Regions from separate parts of the Homo sapiens genome. Here regions 1, 2, 3, 4, 5 and 6 are each linked to region 7. Evidence: promoter capture Hi-C in 16 types of primary human blood cells and fetal thymus (Javierre and others, 2016). All regions are on one chromosome and are shown on one strand. Each heading gives the region's core, a stretch centred on a gene start or on the middle of the fragment in contact. The rest is flanking DNA. Distances are from core to core; before and after follow the strand shown. Region 1 holds the start of LINC02345 (long intergenic non-protein coding RNA 2345). Region 2 has its middle 22 kb from the start of LINC02345. Region 3 has its middle 130 kb from the start of LINC02694. Region 4 has its middle 49 kb from the start of TMCO5A. Region 5 has its middle 170 kb from the start of LINC02694. Region 6 has its middle 41 kb from the start of LINC02345. Region 7 holds the start of FAM98B (family with sequence similarity 98 member B).

Region 1 (2,804 bases), core at 45-2,544, 410 kb after region 7:
ACATTTGGCTTGTTTCCACCTTTTGGCTATTATGAATAACACTGCTACGAACACTCACATACATGTTTTTGCACGGACATATATTTTTATTTCTCTAGGGAATGTACCTAAGAGTAAACTTACTGGGTCATATGGCGACTCCGTTTGCCTGCAGAAGAATGGGACTGTGATTCCTAGAGAATGCCTCCAAGACTTGCAGCCTGGGTGACCGCTTCAGTGTCTGTGGAGCCCTCATGGTCAAGACGCCATTGTGGAAGTTGTAGCAGGATGGACCTTAAGTATCCCCATTGTCCCAGCCTCCTGATGTTTACTTCTTTGTCATATCTCCTCCCTCTGACCTGGGTGGGGACTGTAACTTGCTTCTGACCAATTGAATATGAATGGGACGTCACTTTGTTGATTATGTTACATTACATAGGGCTCTGGTAGACTGGAGACTCTCCTTGTGCCTTGATGAAGTACACAGCTATGCTGGAGAAATCCATGTGGCAAGGAACTGCAGGTGGCCCCTGGAACCTGAGGACAGTCAGTGAAGAGCTGAGGCTCCAGTTATGTAGCTGCAAAGAGATGAATTCTGTCAACAACTGGGATGAACTTGGAAGTGGATTTTTCCCTAGTTGAACCTTTGATGAGAATGTGGCCCAGCTAATGCCTTGATTGCAGCCTTTGAAACTGAGCAGAGGACCAGCTAATTCGTGCCCAGACTTCTGACCCACGAAGACTGAGATAATAATATGTGGTGTTTGTGTAGCTAAGTTTGTGGCAATTTGTTATGCAACATTAAGAACAGTCGAGAATTTGGTTCCATTATATAATCTGGGCTGGATGCCACTGAGTTTACTTGTCAAGGCAAATATTCTGTTTACTTATCAGTATGATTATCACAAAAGATAAACTGCCATGGAAGTTCAAGTATGTGCTTGGTTGCTATAGAGTAATCTATACCTGTGGGGTATACTCTAGAATGAGAAAATAGGGATGGCAGAAGTAAGAAACAGAGTTCCACTCTGTCTGCTTGACTCATATAGGAGTCTCTACAAATCCTGTTCCAAAAAGAGTCACTAAAAGATCAGAACACAAGAGGAACGATAACTTATGTAATGAGAGCTACTATTTATTAGGGACTATGGGACTGAGAGGATATGCATGAAATTGAGGCCATGCCCTAATATAGCTTATGTTATACTGTAGTTATAATTTACTTAGCTCACTGTGAAGCTATAATCTTGAACTTAACATTCGTTTTCTCTTACACTTCTTTAGCCAAATAATAGCAAAACAAGCCCAGCCTGGTGAACACCACTTCTATTTTTGGAATTTACTTAGGATGATTCCATTTTTCTTAGTCATCCATATCTATATTTAACAGCCCTACACTCAGAATTTTAACTTATAGCTTATTTAAATCTATTAAATTAAATCTATTCTATTAAAACCTGCATTTTTTCCACCTGCCTCTAGACAGATGGAAACAGCTGATGATGTGAATCTCTTGACTGTCCTTGTCATATCATTTTGTCTTGTTACATTTAATTCCTGACTGACTTAAGTGAGGAGAGTAAGGTGGATCTTATCCTGTAGCAGAGGGATACATGTGGAATGTCCTCCACTTCCTTGGTGATCTGACTTTAATTTCAAGCACTGTAGAGATGACTCAGTGTGCAGTAACTAATATGAAAAGTCGTGCTGCTTATAACATACAGTGAGTAACTATTACCAGACTCACCTCAGATGACTTGGAAGTTTCCTAGTTGGGAGAATGAAGCAATTTAAAATTGATGGGAAATGAATGTCTGAAACCCAGTAGAGTAAAAGTTTCAAGCATCACTGAAATTTTCATCTTCCGAGGCCGGGTGTTGTGGCTTATGCCTGTAATCCCAGCACTTTGGGAGGCCGAGGTGGGCAGATCATGAGGTCAGGAGATCGAGACCATTCCTGGTTAACATGGTGTAACCCCATCTCTACTACAAATATAAAAAATTAGCCGGGCGTGGTGGTGGGTGCCTGTAGTCCCAGCTACTCGGGAGGCTGAGGCAGGAGAATGGTATGAACCCGGGAGGCAGAGGTTGCAGTGAGCCGAGATCGCAGCCACTGCACTCCAGCCTGGGCGACAAAGCGAGACTCCGTCTCAAAAAAAAAAAAAAAAGAAATTTTCATCTTCCATATCTCATACCAGTAGATACATAACAAAGCAAAATTTTGTTCTGCTGAGGATAGAATCAACTGTGGTTCCCCTTATATTTATTTATAGCAGTGCCATCGTCCCATCATAGGAAACAGAGATGAAATGGATGGAGTAATATTTTATGTGATGTACTTCATAGAAGAGTTTTGCTAGGAAACAAAGATTACTTGGACACGGTAGGAACAGACATTTCTATGAACAGGGTCTCATCACTTTTTTTCTATATCTATAAAAGAAAATGTATAATTACACTCTGATGGAGCAAATAGGATGGTGAGGAATGTTTATATTTACATAGTTGATTTCATTTACTTTAACAATTATTGTTAGTATTTTTTTTTTATTTTTTTTTTTTGAGACGGAGTCTCACTCTGTTGCCCAGGGTGGAGTGTGATGGCGTGATCTTGGCTCACTGCAACCTCTGCCTCCCGGGTTCAAGCGATTATTCTGCCTCAGCCTCCAGAGTAGCTGGGACTGCAGGCATGTGCCACCATGCCAGGCTAATTTTTGTATTTTTAGTAGAGATGGGGTTTCACCATATTTACCAGGCTGGTCTCGAACTTCTAACCTTGTGATCTGCCTGCCTTGGCCTCCCAACTTGCTGGAATTACAGGCGTGA
Region 2 (2,700 bases), core at 168-2,667, 440 kb after region 7:
CTCAAACCTGTAATGCTAGTGCTTTGGGAGACAGAGGCTAGAGGATTGCTTGAAGCCAGGGATACAGGACCAGTTTAGGTAACAAGGCAAGACCCCGTCTCTATGAAATTAAAAAAAAAAAAAAATTAGCCAGACATAGTGGCACTGCCTGTAGTCCCAGCTACTCAGGAGGGTGAGGTGAGAGGACCACTTGAGTCCAGGAATTTGAGGCTGCAGTGAGCTATGATTTTACCACTGCACTCCAGCCTGAGTGACAGAGTGAGACCCTGTGTCTTAAGAAAATAGTGAACTCTAGTATAATGTACCACTCTAGTGGGGGATGCTGACAGTGGGGGAGGTTGTGAATGTGAACGGGTAGGAGGAATATGTGACTTCTCTGTACTTTCAACTCAATTTTGTTACAAACCTAAACCTGTTCTAAAATGTAAAGTCTATTTACAAAAAAAAGGAAAATTGAAACTTCTGATAAACTGACCTATATTTTCCTTAGAAGAATTAACCAGAATTTGTATTATCCCATCCATGCAAAATAAATATTCTAGTTAGCTTTTACTTCCCTTTTCCTTGTTACTTGAGATTGAAATTACTAAGAATTTTAGTTCCAGATTGCTTCAGTTTTAGAAATATTATTAACTTCTATTTTAGTCATCTTTTTCCTAACAGTGCCATTAAGTTTCACAACATTATCTGCAATCATTTTGACTCAAGGATTTTACTGATTTCTTTGCCCACTACTATTTTATTGGTTTAGTTTCACATCTTCCTCTTTCTTGAATTCTTCACTATGATTTATTTTTCATTTTACAGAAGTCATTCTGGGGGCTCTTTTATTTCTCTCTCAGAATATATGGGTGGTATACTATCTGAGTCATTGCATATCTGAAAATATTCTTTACCTCCATACTTAGTGATAATTTTGATTGCATATTGAATTTAAGGTTTAAACTACTTTTCCACATAACTTCATAAACAGAGCTCCATTGTCTTTTAACATCTAGTGTTGTATGTAAGAAGTTCCATGCCCATCTAATTTTCATTTCTTATGCATAAATTGTTGTGTTTCTCTGGAAAATTAAAATATTTTAATTTTAATCCTGGATTTTGAAATCTGTATGTAAAAAAAAAAATAACATTACTGCTCTTCACTTACTGAACCCTTTTAATCTGAAGATAGAAAACTTTAGATCAGGGAAATTTTCTTTATTATTTCTTTGATTATTGCTTTCATTCATTTTCTCTATTTTTTTCGTTCTTCATCTCCTGTTACTATATGTGGAATTTTTTAGACCTATCTTCCATATCATTTATCTTTAATCATTTACATCTCTTTTTTTTGCCAGTTGGGTAGAATTCTATTACTTGTTTTTACAGGCCAACAATTTTTATTAATCTATTTTCATTCTACTATTTTGCCTCCCACTGAAATTTTACTTTTAAAGTCATGTTTTTAATTTCTAGAGTGCACTTGTTCTCCAATGGCTTTCTTTTTTGAAACCAGATTTCTTCATTTTACTAATTAATGGCCACTTAACTCTCTCTGAGGACAATAATTTTAAAAATTTCTTAAAGTTGTCTCCTATTTCTTGCTTTAACGCTCTTTACTTAGAGTTAAGTCTTCAGCTTAGTTATGTTGGTGCCCTTCTCTTAGCCTGTTGACTTTCTTCTTTGTTGTCTATTACTGTTTACCAGTAAAGGCTTGCCTTGATTAACGATGGTATCAAGTGTGGGTTTCTTCAGAATTTGTGAATGTCACTGATACACAGCCCTAAGCAGGTGTATTAGTCCATTTTCGCACTGCTATAAAAAACTACCTGAGACTGGGTGACTTATGAAGAAAAGAGGTTTGACTTATAGTTCTGCATGGCTGGGGAGGCCTCATGAAACTTACAGTTGTGGCAAAAGGCAAAGGGGAAGCAAGGCACATCTTCCCATGGCAGAGCAAGAGAGAGAGAGAGTGAAGGGGGAAGTGCCACACGCTTTCAAACAACCAGATCTCATGAGAGCTCGCTCACGATCACAAGAACAGCAAGGGGGAAGTCCACTCTCATGATTCAATCACCTCTCGCCAGGCCCTGCCCCCAACATACAGGGACTACAATTGGAGATAAGACTTGGGTGGGGACACAGAGACAAATCATATCTGCAGGCCTCCTTGCTTTTCAGATGACTGCCTGCGGTGCCCTCTGAGTACCCTTACTCAGATGCAGTGAGTAGGTGGGCACTTCTAAAAGCTGTGTTTTCTTCTAGGATGTTTTAATGGTAAGCAGACTGACAGAATAGGAGCCCCTCAACTGAGGAAGCAGGAACTTCTTATGATGAAGACAATGCTTTAAAAGCCTTTCCTGTACCACTGAGTGCTTTTTTCCTTTTCCTTTTCTTCCATTATACCGATCTAAATTTGAACAAGGCACAGCCATTTCTCTGGCTCCTCTCCGGCAGGCAGGTTACCATTTTTGTTAGGGAGTTGCTTTGCACAGAGCAGGATTCTGGCCCAGCTCCTGCCATATTTCTAAGACCCCACGCACTCCCATGCTTCCATGACCCACTCCTGCTTCTCGGAGATTTAAACTTTTCTGAACTCCGTTAGGAAACCAAACTATGCACTCCTCCATCACCCCTCCTTCTTTACTAGTATTAGGAGGCAGAAGTTTTGGCAATTAACTTATAAATTAATTTGATTCTATATGCTTTTATAATATC
Region 3 (2,700 bases), core at 43-2,542, 370 kb before region 7:
GTAAAGGTTCCTTTTATCTTTAACTGAAAGAGGTAGAATCCAGCACATTTGTGAAGGAGCATGTTTCCTGTTTAGAGTTGCCCTGCCCCAGAGCCACACTCTCCACCTTAGCCCTTTTTTCAGAGGGTAATGGTCAAGAATGAAGGTGCTTGTGCATTAATCCTGACACAACCATTTACTGTCTGGATGACTTAACATCTTTGGGCCTCAGTTTCCTTACCTGGAAAATGATGCTAATTATCCCTACCTCATAGAGTTGTGAGGATTAAAGAAGTTGATGTTTATCAAGTACTTAGAGCAGTCCCTTGCAAATACAAAGTGCTTAAAACACATTGGCCATTATCTTCTCACAGTCAATGTTTCTATAGGAACAAAAAATTGGCTTGTGACCTCAAGGTAATTTGCCATAACATGATACAGACTGCCCCAGCACTCACTGCCAGTGCCAGAGAAGAAGGATGGCCCCATTTGAACTTGGGAAGTGGCTATTCTGAAGAATTAGAATCTCTTGCCCAGAGCATGTGGCTGAGAGGCAGAATGTGAAGCACCTTATTTATTTCATCTGGGCTTTCTCATGTTTACAGGGAGCTGGCATTTCTCTGTCATTCAAAAGAAGGAAAAAAAAAAAAGTCAACGATTGGTCATTCTATTATCAAAGAAGATAACATTTTATCAACTTTTCTTAGATATCTCACATATTCTTCCTTCCAAAAGCACTTGAAGCTTAATTTAGTCAATGACTGGTCAAAGGGAGAAAAGTGACCATTACAATTTGTCATTCACCCAATAATTGTAATCAAAGTAATAACAGCAATAATAGTAATAGTTAACATTTATTATATACATATTGTGGACAACGTTTTATCGTAAGTACTTTACAGAGAATATCTCATCGTAAATCTTCCAAAAACCCTAGGGGATATTATCCCCATTTTACAGAAGGGAAAATAATCCCCAAGTTTCCTAATAACAGGATATCAGGGAGATTTCAATAGAAGAGTCAAGCCAACAAAAACAAATTCAGCAGACAATGGAAATTCTGTTGGGAAATAACACCCCCAGTGGCTCTATCACTCAGCACCAAGAACACCTCCAATGACTGTATGAGTTTCTAGCAACATGGTAACTTTCAGTTCTCGGAAATGTCCAAACAGAGAGCAAGTCATGTGAAAAGATACTTAAGATTGAGCCACTTTCCATTCCTTGAAAATTTAGATCTATGCTTAAAGTTTGCTTCTAGCCTGTCTATATTAGTAGGAGTTGTATTCATCAAGTTGTTTAGAAGTAGTGTTTGTTTAATCAGGGCTTTTTGATGTACAAAGCACTTTTAATTCATTATCTCATCTGATTATTTTCAATGATGGTGACAAATAGAAGTCTTTGTTGCCATTTTATACATAAAATTGAGGCTTAAAATGTCCTCAAGCCCCAGAACTGGATACCAAAACCCTGTCTTCTGCCTCATGTCCCATCTTATGCTTTCATCTTTCAATAAGATGGAGAAGCGAGATTCGTGCACAGGGTAAAATTTTGTTTCAGCACCACACACTAGATACCCAACTAGATCAAAGGATTAATAAGAGCATGTCACCAGCTGGGGATAGATGTATCAAACAGAGATCGTGGGTTAACTGGTATTCAGATTGGGCCAAACACCTTCAAACTTTACTGCAAACAGTTAACAAAATCACAGTGGAATATAGATGCTTTTTATGTTCCAGAAAACAGTCTTTGGACCACCTCAAAAGAAATTCTGTCAAAGCTGTTTTTCTTCTTTAATCCAGGTTGGCTAGTAGCCAAAGAAACAAGGTCTTCATTGCCCACTTCAGTCCTCAACATTTCAACTGAAAAGGGAAGCTTAGGCATAGTGCTTTATAAAATACCATCGGGTGATTAGGGCTTAGAGACATTTCCTGACGTCTAATGGAGATAAGGAATGAAGGCTCCAGAACCAGTTGAGGTACAATTCACTCCCCTGATAGCTAAGCAGAAAAAGAGCTAACACTGGAGTCACCCAGTTTCCCTCTGGAATGTCCCTCTGAGTTTGAGGAAATTCATGTCATCACCTTCCCACCATTCAATAGTCATGGTTATTAGTGGTATCCAAAGATATTCAGAGTCAAATTTAGGTCACATGGGGCCAAACAATGGAATTCCTGCTCTCAAGGACAGAGGAACACTCTAATTTCATTTTCACGGTCAGCATACACGCAATTTCCACCCCAGACATTTGTTGTCCAAAACACTGCCTAAACTTGAGTGCTATGATGTGAAATATATATCTGAAGTTCTGTGGCCTCTTCAGGGGACTGGGGTGTCACCCTGCTTGGCTTCTCTGATCAAAAAAGACTTTCAGCCCAGAGAACCCCTGGCTTCCAACTTGAGGACAGATCCCTAGAAAAGCCCTGGGCCCCTTTTGGATGTGGTACTGTGTAAGGTGAGAGCTTCATTGGAGTTAGAACTTAGGACTCTGAACACTTCACAGCTCAGATCATGGTTTCTTTGGATCTAGAGCAATTGGGAGAGGTGTAGAGAAGGGGCAAAGGGGACAAATTCAGCTCCTGGAAAGAACTGCCAAGATCTCAGAATAGAGATTTTTTTTTTTAATGCCTCAAGGAAAGCACAAAAAAGAAAGCATTCATCACTTCTGCAAGGAAACCTTCCCTAATTACATTGAAATAAAAATACCCTTCCTCCGGC
Region 4 (2,700 bases), core at 120-2,619, 470 kb after region 7:
ACTCTTTGATTCTAAGATTGCCTTGCTCCATCCCCCATTCTATGTTCTGTTCTGTTGTTTTTTTTTTTTCCCTGAACATTTCTACAAATACTTTCTTCTAGTATTTGTGGAATACTTCATTCTATAACTAATGGCTATTTGTTTATCTCCAATCCAGCATTGACCTAAAGTTCAGACATGACTCTTTCTTTCTTCCAAAATTCACTTGTAAGAGTAGTTTAGTCCATTTCTCCTGCTATAACAAAATACCATAGACAGGGTGAGTTATAAACAACAGAAATGTCTCACAGTTCTGAAGGGTGGGAAGTCCAAGATCAATGTGCTGGCAGATTTGATGTCTGGTGAGAGCTGCTTTCTGCTTCCAAGAGGGCAGCTTGTTGCTGTGTCCTCACAAGGTGGAAGAGTGGAAAGGCAAAAAAAAAAAAAAAAAAAAAAAAAAAAAGACAAATGTTCTCTGCAGCCTCTTTTTTAAGGACATTAATCACCTCCCAAAGGCCCTGCCTTGTAACTCCATTGCCTTGGTGATAGGTTTCAATATTTGAAGTTTGAAAGTACACATGCATTCAAACCATAACAACCAGTCAACAAGAAGCAACTTGCACAAGCAAATATCTACAACTATGTGTGGCAGATTTTACTGGATATTGAGGTAATCATGTACTCATGTTGCAGCGCTGTTTAGAAAATATTCTAACATTGAATATTAGCTTTTCTGGTCCTCTGAAAGTCCCTTCTCCATTTCCACCAACTTAGATTTCAGAGTCTCATGACATTGTTCAGCTTTCTCTCCTACTGCTTCTCTGTCTCCCAGTTGTGATAAAAAAAAATCCTTATATTATTATGAAGAGCATTTTAGCTCTAGCACTTACCACCTCCTCCCTCATTCACACTTTGCACAGCTTAAGATTTATTAATGTGCTTTGCTAAAAAAAGCTTCATGTATTTCAAGTGTTACCCTTTCTTCTCTACCCTGCCCCCCTTACTTTTTACAGAAGCATGGAGAGGAATATGAAGCTTTATTTCCCCAGAAGCAACACTTAGAATACGTAAGACTTAGAAGAGTTAGATGAGCAACATGTATCCTCTCATGACCTCAGAAGACATAAGTGTAGTTGACAATCTCAGCACTTTGGGAGACCGAGGTGGGTGGATCACCTGAGGTCAGGAGTTCGAGACCAGCCTGACCAACATGGTGAAACCCCGTCTCTACGTCTCTACTAAAAATACAAAAATTAGCTGAGTGTGGTGGCAGCCACCTGTAATTCCAGCTACTTGGGAGGCTGAGGCAGGAGAATCACTTGAATCTGGGAAGCGGAGGTTGCAGTGAGCCGAGATCATGCCATTGCACTCCAGCCTGGGCAACAAGAGCGAAACTCCATCTCAAAAAAAAAACAAAAAAAAAAACAGTAAAAAGAAAAAAAAGGACTCACAAGACTGGGATCTTATTCTAGCTCTGTCACTAGTTAATTGTGTGATCTTGGGAAAGTACCTCATGGTACCTGAGAAATAATCTCTAAATTTCTTGCCAATTCTATGAGTCTGTGATTTGAGAGTCCCTCTGGTGCCTAGTTCTTCTATAAATGTAGTCAAGGTTGGGGTTTCTCCCTTCACAGGTAGGTGAACTTTCCCCTACCTTGGGCTGTGCCCCAACATCTCCCTGGCCAGCCATCTGCTCAATGCCTGTTGTCAGAAGCAATAGAGATTTTACAGACAGGCCAAGCTTTGGGGCCAGATACAGGCATATATCCTGTTTTTTTTCAACTCAGAACCTAGGTTGTGCTGTTTACTCAGTGAATCTGGCTTATTTGTGAACTGAAACTGCGCATAATGATATCTACCTTAGAAGATTGTGTAAAACAATGATGCACATGAAGCACTAAAGTGAAGTGCCTAGCACATCGTAAGTGCCCATAAATGGAACATTATCATGTTTGTATAAGGGGGAAAGGTGAGTGTCATGGCAAGCACATGACATGCTCTTTCTGGGTCTGCTGACACACTTGCATGTATATGGAAGAATGAACTCAGCTTACTGTACGGATAGCTCCCAAACTTTAGTTTTACTGGGTAGAAAATAAAAGTTAAGAGAGAGAGCTGAATGGTTCTAGGCAGCAATTTATTTTAGGCTACGATGAGGAGGGGAAAGGTAGATTGATTAAAGAGATGGGAAGAGAGAGGACTATGAATAGAAAAAATAAAACATGTCCAAGGGGATGATTCAGTTTCTGCAGTATGATGACTGACAGGCATCCTTTGCCTTTGTCTCCATGAATCATATATAAATATATATATACACACACATATATATATGAAATATAATATCTATTATATATGTCTGTTATATAATATAACTCAATATATTTATATATTATATATTTATATATATTTATATATTATAGATATTTATATAATTATAAACATAGATCATATAACATATGTGTTAATATATTATATCTGATATATATCATATACCTACTATATATCTATATTATATGTTAGATATAATATATAATTATATATTATAAATTATAGTATATATAATATATTAAATAATATATAAACAATTATATATCATAATAATATATAATATCTATTATATATAGATAATATATAATATCTATTATATATAGATAATATATAATACATAAAATATCTATTATATAATAGGTGTTATATATATTTGTATATAATTGTAATATA
Region 5 (2,851 bases), core at 172-2,671, 410 kb before region 7:
GACTTCTCAATCTTCCCTTTTCATGATGAACCACAGTCCCTGGCTGGGACTCAAGTTGCATCTTTCAGCCCTCTACCACCATCACCAGCTGCACTACAGTGTCCAGTATTTTCCTGTGTGCCCGTGGTCCCCATTCCAAGCTTCCTCCCATGTGCAGGGACACAGGTTACCCATTGCTGGACTGCTCCACATTTAATTACCTAGACAGAGAGCTTGCACATAGAAAGTGTTCTATAAATGTTATTTATTCCATCTAAACTTCCCACTAGCAAAGTAACCACAAAGACAGGAACTTGCCTTAGTTGTTCAGATGTGGCCCTATCATGAGATCTATGGTTAGCCCATAGTAGCCAATGAAAAAGAATGGCTTTTGAGTGAATGAATCACTGAAGATTCATTCTAGCCTTTATTTCAAGAAGATGTGGGAATGTAATCCTTTGCTGTTCAGCAAAAATGCTAAACTAGAACCAGGAACTACAGACTTGGAGTGCCTCTTTTTATTTAAGAGACTCTTGGGAGACACCACCTTATGTACCCCCACAAGCTAGATGTTCTTCCTATTCCAAATAAACTACAAGGATGAATACTGTACCATCTTACTCAAAGCCAAAACAGCCCTGGAAATATGTTTTCCAGTCTAGTTAATCAGAAAAAGGAAGGGTGTACATAGTCATGTGGAGTGTTTCAAGCAGATAATTACTCTTCTATGCATTTTCTCAATGCCAACGTGTACCAAAATGACAGTTATTTCCTTTGCCCAGAAACTCCAGTTCTGAAATATTTCACATAACAGAGCATTCCTCCCCATCTCATCTCTCCCTACCAACTGTCTGAAGTTCTTTGACAATGAGATCTTAGCTGGAGCCTTGCAATGGAAGAGTGCTTGTTCACTGATATATCAATTTGGTTACTTTGAAGACATTTAAATAGAAATTTTGATGTACCAGATATTTCTCTACAGAATTAAGAGAAAGTTGAGAAAAGTTTCAATATGATAGGGAATAATGGAGTAGACTGGTTTTTATAGATAAGCCTAATCCTTCTTCATCCATATGTAATTCCCAGTTCATTACCTTCCCAGGCTCATCAACCTGCGTTCTACCAGTAAATGCATGCACTGAGGAGCTTAACTATCTGTCTGCCTTGGGTATGAATTGGCCACAGATACACGGGAATACGTATGATGTAAAGACAATGCTGAATTACCATGATATTCATATAGCAGACATGTTCACAGGTATTAGTAAGAAGGTAATAAAAAATAGAAGATAGTTTATTATGTTCCAAGAAGGGTGCTAGATAATTTATATATAATAGTCTTATCTCACTTACATTTTAATCATATAAAGGTGGCATTCCTATTTTAGAAATTAGAAATTGAAAAGGGCTCAGAAAAAAAAGTTCCCTGTTTAATATCCCACAGGATTTGAGCTTTAGGATCTTTGCTTTGAAGAAAGGAAATTTGTGATACTAGTAGATTAATTTCTACTTCCACTGTACCCATAAAGGCATGATAGCAAGAGTGAATTGTGCTTTAATTTTTTGTCTTTATGTCTACTCCATAACCAGGTTTATCCCCTTTCCTGCTTTATTTTTCTTCATAGCACTGAGTCAGTTGGGGTTAAACCAGAGAACCAGAACCAATAAAGGATGACATGAAGTTTGCTGCAAGAGATTGGCTTAGGCAATTGTGGCAGCTGCATAAATAAGTCCAAAATCCATAGGTCAGGCCAACCATAAGGGCAGGCTGGAACTCCTGGGCATGGGCTGAATCTGTTGTCTTACACATGAATTTCTCCTCTAAGAGGAGCCTCAGTCCTGCTTTTAAGGCCTTTCAAGCTGACTGAATCAGACTCACTCAGATTCTCCAGGATAATCTCTCTTAAAATCAAGTGATCATGGACTTAAATTACATCTATAAAATACCTTCACAGCAACATCTAGATTTGTGTTGGATTGGATAATTAAAGGCTATAGTCTGTTCAAATTGACACATCAGAAAGACCACCATAACCTGATATATCTTACTCATTTATATTTATTGTTTATCATTTCTCTTCCCACACTAGAATGTAAGCTCTATGAGAAAATCAACTTTTTGGGTTTTGTTTACTGCTGTATTCCTCAGCAGCTAGAACACCATCTGGCATGTGGTAAGCAGCTGATAACTGTGAAATGAATAAAGAATTGAATAAATGAACAGCTTTCTTGCCAGGAAGGGCCTCCCCTCTCCATATTGGGTCAAACACCCAGCACAATTCCCAGAACAGAACAGGTAGTCAGAATTGTTTTCAATTAATTAAAACCAGCTGGTGACCCACATGCTTTCTATAGAATTCCACATCTCAGGAATGGCTGGTGTGGTGGAGACAATGGGCATAGAGGGCCAGTTTTACTCACCTGATATTACCAAGGTGAAGAGGAAAGGCTGTGGGCACCATCAACACCCCTGCTGGGGATTGTGGGAACTTGGGATAGGAAGAGATGCAAACACCATTGGCAGTTGTTTGGAGTGATTTCAGGAACAGTTCAATATAGCATTGGCTGAAAGGAAGTGGGAAAGATCACAGAGTGTGTGCCGCTTCTGCTTCTGTTTCTGGGTGACTGCATAACAGGAAAGTAACTGTCTTGCACAATCAACCCAGATGATCCAGAAACAACGGGAAAAATGTTCATGAGCCCCTGAGGTGAAGCAAGCTTCATTTTCTATGACCCCTGAAGGAAATGGGCATCTGATATAATTGGGTTCTTTCTTTTGGAGGCCCAAGGCTGTGAGACTCCTTTTCCTAACCGCGGTGGGGTATTTTGATTTACAGCTGGGATGATAATTACATGTACCATTCTTTTAACA
Region 6 (2,965 bases), core at 42-2,541, 450 kb after region 7:
GTCAATGCAGCAAGAGGATATATAAGAATTTTAAATGTATATGCACCCAACACTGGGGCATCCAGATATATATAACAAATATTATTAGAGCTAAAGAGAGAGATAGACCCCAATACAATAATAGCCAGAGACTTCCACATCCAACTTTCAGCATTGGACATATCTCCTAGACTGAAAAGCAACAAAGAAACATCTGACTTAATTTGCACTATAGACCAAGTGCACCTAATAGATATTTACAGAACATTTCATCCAATGGTTGCAGAATACACATTCTTTTACTCAGCATATGGATTATTTTCAAGGATAGGCCATATGTTAGGCCACAGAATGTCTTAAAAATTCAAAATAATTGAAATAATATCAAGTATCTTATCTGACCACATGGAATAAAACTAGAAATCAATAACAAGAGGAATGTTGGTAACTGTACAAACACTGGTAAACAGTATGTTTCTGAATGACCAGCAAGTCAATGAAGAAATTACGAAGGAAATTGAAAGTCTTCTTGAAATAAATGATAATGGAAACACAACATAAAACTTTTAGGGTACAGCAAAAGCAGTACTAAGAGGAAAGGATATAGCAATAAGCACCTTCAAAGAAGTAGAAAAACTTCAAATAAATAACACAATTATACATTTTAAAGAACTGGAAAAACAAGAGCAAATCAAATTCAAAATTAGTATAAGAACAGAAGTAATAAAAATCTTAACAGAAATGAATGAAATTTAAATAAAAATACACAAAGATCAATGAAATGAAAAGTTTGTTTTTTGAAAAGATAAACAAAACCGAGAAACTTTTAGCCAGATTAAGAAAAAAAGAGAGAAGACCCTAATAAAAAAAATTCTGAGATGAAAAAGGAGACATTACAACCAATACCACAGAAATTCAAAGGATAATTACAGGCTACCATGAGCAACTTTATGCCAATAAATTGGGAAACCTAAAGAAATGGTTAAATTCTTAGACAAATACAACCTACCCAGATTGAATCATGAAGAAATTCAAAACCTGAACAGACCAATAACAAGTTACAAGATCGAAGCCATAATCAAAAGTCTTCTAGCAAAGAAAAGCCTTGGACCTGATGGCATCATTGCTGAATTCTACCAAGCATTTAAAGATGATCTAAAACCAATTCTACTCAAACTATTCTGAAAAATTGAGGAGGGGGAATACTTCCAAACTCATTCTACATGGCCAGTATTACCCTGATACCAAAATCAAAGACACATCAAAAAAAGAAAGCTACAGGCCAATATCGCTGATGAACAGTGATGTAAAAATCCTCAACAAAATACTAGCAAACCAAATTCAACAACACATTAGACAGATCATTCAGTATGACCAAGTGGGATTTATTCCAGGGATGCAAAGATGGTTCAACATATGCAAATCAATCAGCATGATACATTATATCAACAGAATGAAGGACAAAATCATGATCATTTCAATTGATGCTGAAAAAGCATTTGATAAAATTCAACATCCCTTTATGAAAAAAACCCTTAAAAAACTGGGTATGGAAGAAAATACCTCAATACAATAAAAGCCATATGTGATAGATCCACAGCTAGTATAACACTGAATGAGGAAAAACCAAAATCTTTTCTCTAAGACCTGGAACATGACAAGGATGTCACTTTCACTATTGTTATTCAACATAGTACTAGAAATCCTAGTTAGAGCAATCAGACAAGATAAGGAAATAAAGGGCCTGCAAATTCAAAAGGAAGAAGTCAAATTCTGCTTGTTTGTGGATAATGTAATCTCATATTTGGAAAAACCTAAAAAATCTGCCAAAAGATCTGCTAGAACTAAAACATATTCATTAAAGGTACAGACTGCAAAATCAACATACAAGAATCAGTAGCATTTCTATATGCCAACAGTGAACAATCTGAAAAGGAAATCGAGAAAGCAATTCCATTTACAATAGCTACAAATAAAATAAAATACCTAGATGTAAACTTAACCAAAGAAGAGAAAGATCATGATAATTAAAACTATACAACACTGATTGGGCCAGGTGTGGTGGCTCACGCCTGTAATCCCAGCACTTTGGGAGGCTGAGGCAGGCAGATCACCTGAGGTCGGGAGGTCAAGACCAGCCTGACCAACACGGAGAAACTCCATCTCTACTAAAAATGTAAAATTAGCTGGGCATGGTGGCGCATGCCTGTAATTCCAGCTACTAGGGAGCCTGAGACAGGAGAATCGCTTGAACCTGGGAGGTGGAGGTTGCGGTGAGCTGAGATTATGCCATTGCACTCCAGCCTGGGCAACAAGAGCGAAACTCCATCTCAAAAAACAACAACAACAACAACAAAAAAAGAAAACTATAAAACACTGATTAAATAAATTGAAGAGGACACAACAAAATGGAAAGTTATTTCGTGTTCATGGATTGGAAGAATCAATATTGTTCAAATGTCCATACTACCTAAAGCAATCTACAGATTCAATGCAATCTCTATCAAAATACCAATGACATTCACCACAGAAATAAAAAAAAAATCCTAAAATTTATATGGAACCACAAAAGACTCAGAACAGTCAAAGCCATCCTGGGCAAAAAGAACAAAACTGGAGGAACTTCATTGCTTGACTTCAAATTATACTACAGAGCTATAGTAACCAAACTATATGATACTGGCATAAAAACAGACACAGAGAGCAATGGAATCAAATAGAGACCCCAGAAATATATCCATACCTCTACAGTGAACTCATTTTTGACAAAGGTGCCAAGAACACACAGAGGGTAAAAGACAGTCTTTTCATAAACGGTGCTGGGAAAACTGGATATCCATGTTCAGAAGAATAAAACTAGATCCCTATCTCTTGCTATATATAAAAATCAAATGAAAATGGATTAAAGTCCTAAATCTAAAACCTCAAACTATGAAACTACTAAAAGAAAACATTAGGGAACTCTCCAGGACATTTGTCTGGGCAA
Region 7 (2,873 bases), core at 29-2,528:
GGGGTGTGGGATTGGTTCAAGCTTCATAATAACGCTGCAAAGGCACAGCTTCCCCTATCAAGAAACAGCAGCACGTAGCAGGGCAAACAAATGTGCAGATGGCTCCAAGCTCTTTATTTAATGTGCACTGTATGACTCAACTATCTGGTCCTATGCTTACTGCTGTGGACTCTTCTCTAAGCTTTTCTTCATTCATTTACTCATTCATTCAACCACTATTTACTGTAAAAGACTCCGTTCTAGTGTGTTGCTGGGAAAACATCGGTGAATAAAATATGCAAAGCATCAGTTTTCCAGGAGCTGACTTGGGGAGGAGGAGGAATAAAACGAGGGAGAAGCAGAGTTCAAGAGACAAATGAATGGGCAGGACATGATAATTTGGGATGGGGACAAGAGCTGTGTGGAAAAAAACAGGATGAGGTTGAGGGGGAGATTACGAACCACCACACTTGTTAAGTATTAACATTACTCCCACCTCCACCCTGAGTTCTCACAGCACTTACCATTCTGCACTGTAAATACCAGCCGGCAGCAGACTTGCAGCCTGCGCGACTATGTAAGCCAAGAGTAATCTGAAAAACTATCCTTTTCCCTTGCCTAGGGGAAATTTACAAACGTAAATATGTGTAAATTAATATACAAGCTAATATACACGTTGACGAACGGACGAAATGGTTGAAAGAACGAACTCGCAATGAACTACAACACTTTCTCCGGTCAAAGTAAAAGCCATTCGCTCCAGAGCCCCAAGTAAGCCACAAGTTGTACATTGTAGGAGACAACAGTCCTCAACAGCAGCTCAGGTTCCAGCACCTCCCTCCGGGCGCCAGAACTACGTCAACACAAATATCACCTGCGGGCGCGAGCTAGCCCAGAAAACCGGTGCTAGAAGGGCCGCTCCGCGCCACCCGGCGGATTCCTGCAACAGAGTTTCGAGGCAAGAAGTTTCGAAGAGGGGGCCACGAACCCCAGCTCTCCGGCCCTGCTCCACCCCCCAAATAGATTTCTCTCCCGCCTCCCGCTTAACTCCGTCGGCGCCGGAGGGATCGAGGCAGGGAAGGAGGCCTACACATGGCCGCCCAGGCCCACAGAGGCCCAAGGGAAGTAGGCTAAGCAGCCAGGCCAAGGAGAGGTTGCGTTTTCAGGGAAAAGGCGTCTCCAAAAGCACTCACCCCAGCGCCTCCAGTGTGTCCAGCACGTCTCCCTCCATCGTCGGTTGGGGACCCGGCTCCGGCCCTCTCATGGTCCTTTGGCCCAGAGCTGTTCGGCGCTCTAAGTAGCCCGCCGGAAACTAGCGTCACCGCGCCAAGGTTCCGGTCCGGGTCTGGCCGGTAACTGCCTGAGAGCACAGCTGAAGAAGGGCGCAAAGGTTCCCAGCCCCGAGGCAATAAACACTTCATAGTGCCTAAAACCGCTGCGTGTAACGATAATAATTTTTTAAAAGAATAGTAGAAATAATAAATAATAGTAATAAAGAGTTCTCTGTGTTGGGACTTTTCTGTGTGTTCAAATAAATTTTAGCAAATATCGTGGTATCGGGTTGATCTCAACCTATCCGATTCCAGACCTTTTTAATAACAGAAATCTGAAATAAAATTATAATTATCTTCAGCTAAAATTAGTAACTAATATCACATGCCTACACATATAATTTTTAAATCAATATACACGACGATGCTTCAACTTGAAGGAAAAAATGAAGTAATTTATAACAAGGTAATATTTTTCTCCTTATGAAATGCGGAAGACCAATGAAGTGATCAGATGCTTGCATCTATCTATGTAGAATCCCCTCAACTGCATATTCAGATGATGTGCTTCATTGCTGACAAAGCATTAGTTGTATAAGCAACAAACATACCGCCAGCAAAGTAAGGTAGTTGATGTGGTTTTCCAAAATTGTGGCGAATTCTCTGTAAAGTTCCAAACAAACAAAACATAATATACCCTCTGTGTACTATCCATGAAGAATTCAATCTCTTATCTAAAGGATTTAAAAAATGTATTTTAGGGTTCATATGTAAAAGGTACTAAGAGTATAAGGTTAGATCATTATTAGCAGGCATGTCACCTACATGAATACTCTAGCAGAACTGTTGGAAATCCTGCATGAAGTATAACTATTGATCCCTTGTATGGACCTGTCCCTTCCATTGCAGACTACATAGCATTCGTAGCCCCAGTCCAATAAAGACCAGTAATGCTCTCGCCTTCCTAATTATGGTTACAAACAAAAAGCATACCCATAAATGTGTAAAACACTCAAAGGTAAGCTGTAGTAGTCCACTCTCATATTGCTATAAAGATATACCTGAGACTGGGTAATTTATAAAGAAAAGGGGTTTAATTGGCTCATGGTTCCACAGGCTGTACACGAAGCATGATGCTGGCATCTGCTCCACTCCTGGGGAGGCCTCAGGAAATGGACAGTTGTGGCAGAAGGGGAAGGGGGAGTGCAGCTATCACGTGGCCGGAGTAAGAGGAAGAGAGAGGGTGCAGGGAGGCAGGGAGGTGCCACACACTTTTTTTTTTTTTTTCAGTCTCGCACTGTCGCCCAGGCTAGAGTGCAGTGGCATGATCTCAGCTCACTGCAAACTCCGCCTCCCGGGTTCACGCGATTCTCCTGCCTCAGCCTCCCGAGTAGCTGGGATTACAGGCGCCCACCACCACACCCGGCTAATTTTTGTATTTTTAGTAGAGACGGGGTTTCACCAGGTTGGTCAGGCTGGTCTCGAACTCCTGACCTCGTGATCTGCCACACACTTTTAAAAAACCAGATCTCATGATAAACTCACTCACTATACAGTGCCAAGGCAGGAATGGTGTCAAACCATTCAAGAGAACTCTGCCCTCATGATCCAATCACCTCCCAC

Evidence for each region. The method cuts DNA at HindIII sites, captures the fragments that hold promoters and counts their contacts. A CHiCAGO score of 5 or more calls a contact.
Region 1: a contact is called between a fragment that was not itself captured here and the fragment with the promoter of FAM98B in region 7, in 1 of 17 cell types (monocytes). The highest score is 5.0, in monocytes.
Region 2: a fragment that was not itself captured here is called in contact with the fragment with the promoter of FAM98B in region 7 in 4 of 17 cell types (monocytes, M2 macrophages, M1 macrophages and 1 more); the score reaches 7.0 in monocytes.
Region 3: a fragment that was not itself captured here is called in contact with the fragment with the promoter of FAM98B in region 7 in 1 of 17 cell types (naive CD4 T cells); the score reaches 5.1 in naive CD4 T cells.
Region 4: a fragment that was not itself captured here is called in contact with the fragment with the promoter of FAM98B in region 7 in 3 of 17 cell types (M2 macrophages, M0 macrophages and M1 macrophages); the score reaches 6.6 in M2 macrophages.
Region 5: a fragment that was not itself captured here is called in contact with the fragment with the promoter of FAM98B in region 7 in 2 of 17 cell types (naive CD4 T cells and non-activated CD4 T cells); the score reaches 6.0 in naive CD4 T cells.
Region 6: a fragment that was not itself captured here is called in contact with the fragment with the promoter of FAM98B in region 7 in 4 of 17 cell types (M2 macrophages, M0 macrophages, M1 macrophages and 1 more); the score reaches 14.0 in M2 macrophages.

Annotation. Positions count from the first base shown.
Region 1 is chr15:38,037,749-38,040,552 of GRCh38, reverse strand. LINC02345 (long intergenic non-protein coding RNA 2345) reads right to left here and starts at 160. Exons shown (of 4, transcript NR_120330.1): 1 at 124-160. It also overlaps a transcript of TMCO5A not described here. The HindIII fragment of the contact is 9,617 bases long and covers 1-2,804 here.
Region 2 is chr15:38,017,199-38,019,898 of GRCh38, reverse strand. It overlaps a transcript of TMCO5A not described here. Among named protein-coding and RNA genes, the nearest start is that of LINC02345, 22 kb to the left of the region's middle. The HindIII fragment of the contact is 5,690 bases long and covers 1-2,700 here.
Region 3 is chr15:38,827,691-38,830,390 of GRCh38, reverse strand. No RefSeq gene overlaps it. Among named protein-coding and RNA genes, the nearest start is that of LINC02694, 130 kb to the right of the region's middle. The HindIII fragment of the contact is 1,134 bases long and covers 726-1,859 here.
Region 4 is chr15:37,982,424-37,985,123 of GRCh38, reverse strand. It overlaps a transcript of TMCO5A not described here. Among named protein-coding and RNA genes, the nearest start is that of TMCO5A, 49 kb to the right of the region's middle. The HindIII fragment of the contact is 706 bases long and covers 1,017-1,722 here.
Region 5 is chr15:38,860,208-38,863,058 of GRCh38, reverse strand. No RefSeq gene overlaps it. Among named protein-coding and RNA genes, the nearest start is that of LINC02694, 170 kb to the right of the region's middle. The HindIII fragment of the contact is 2,557 bases long and covers 143-2,699 here.
Region 6 is chr15:37,998,270-38,001,234 of GRCh38, reverse strand. It overlaps a transcript of TMCO5A not described here. Among named protein-coding and RNA genes, the nearest start is that of LINC02345, 41 kb to the left of the region's middle. The HindIII fragment of the contact is 3,508 bases long and covers 1-2,965 here.
Region 7 is chr15:38,452,532-38,455,404 of GRCh38, reverse strand. FAM98B (family with sequence similarity 98 member B) reads right to left here and starts at 1,278. Exons shown (of 8, transcript NM_173611.4): 1 at 1,173-1,278. The coding sequence starts at 1,243. RefSeq lists enhancers at 861-960, 1,021-1,130. The HindIII fragment of the contact is 3,660 bases long and covers 184-2,873 here.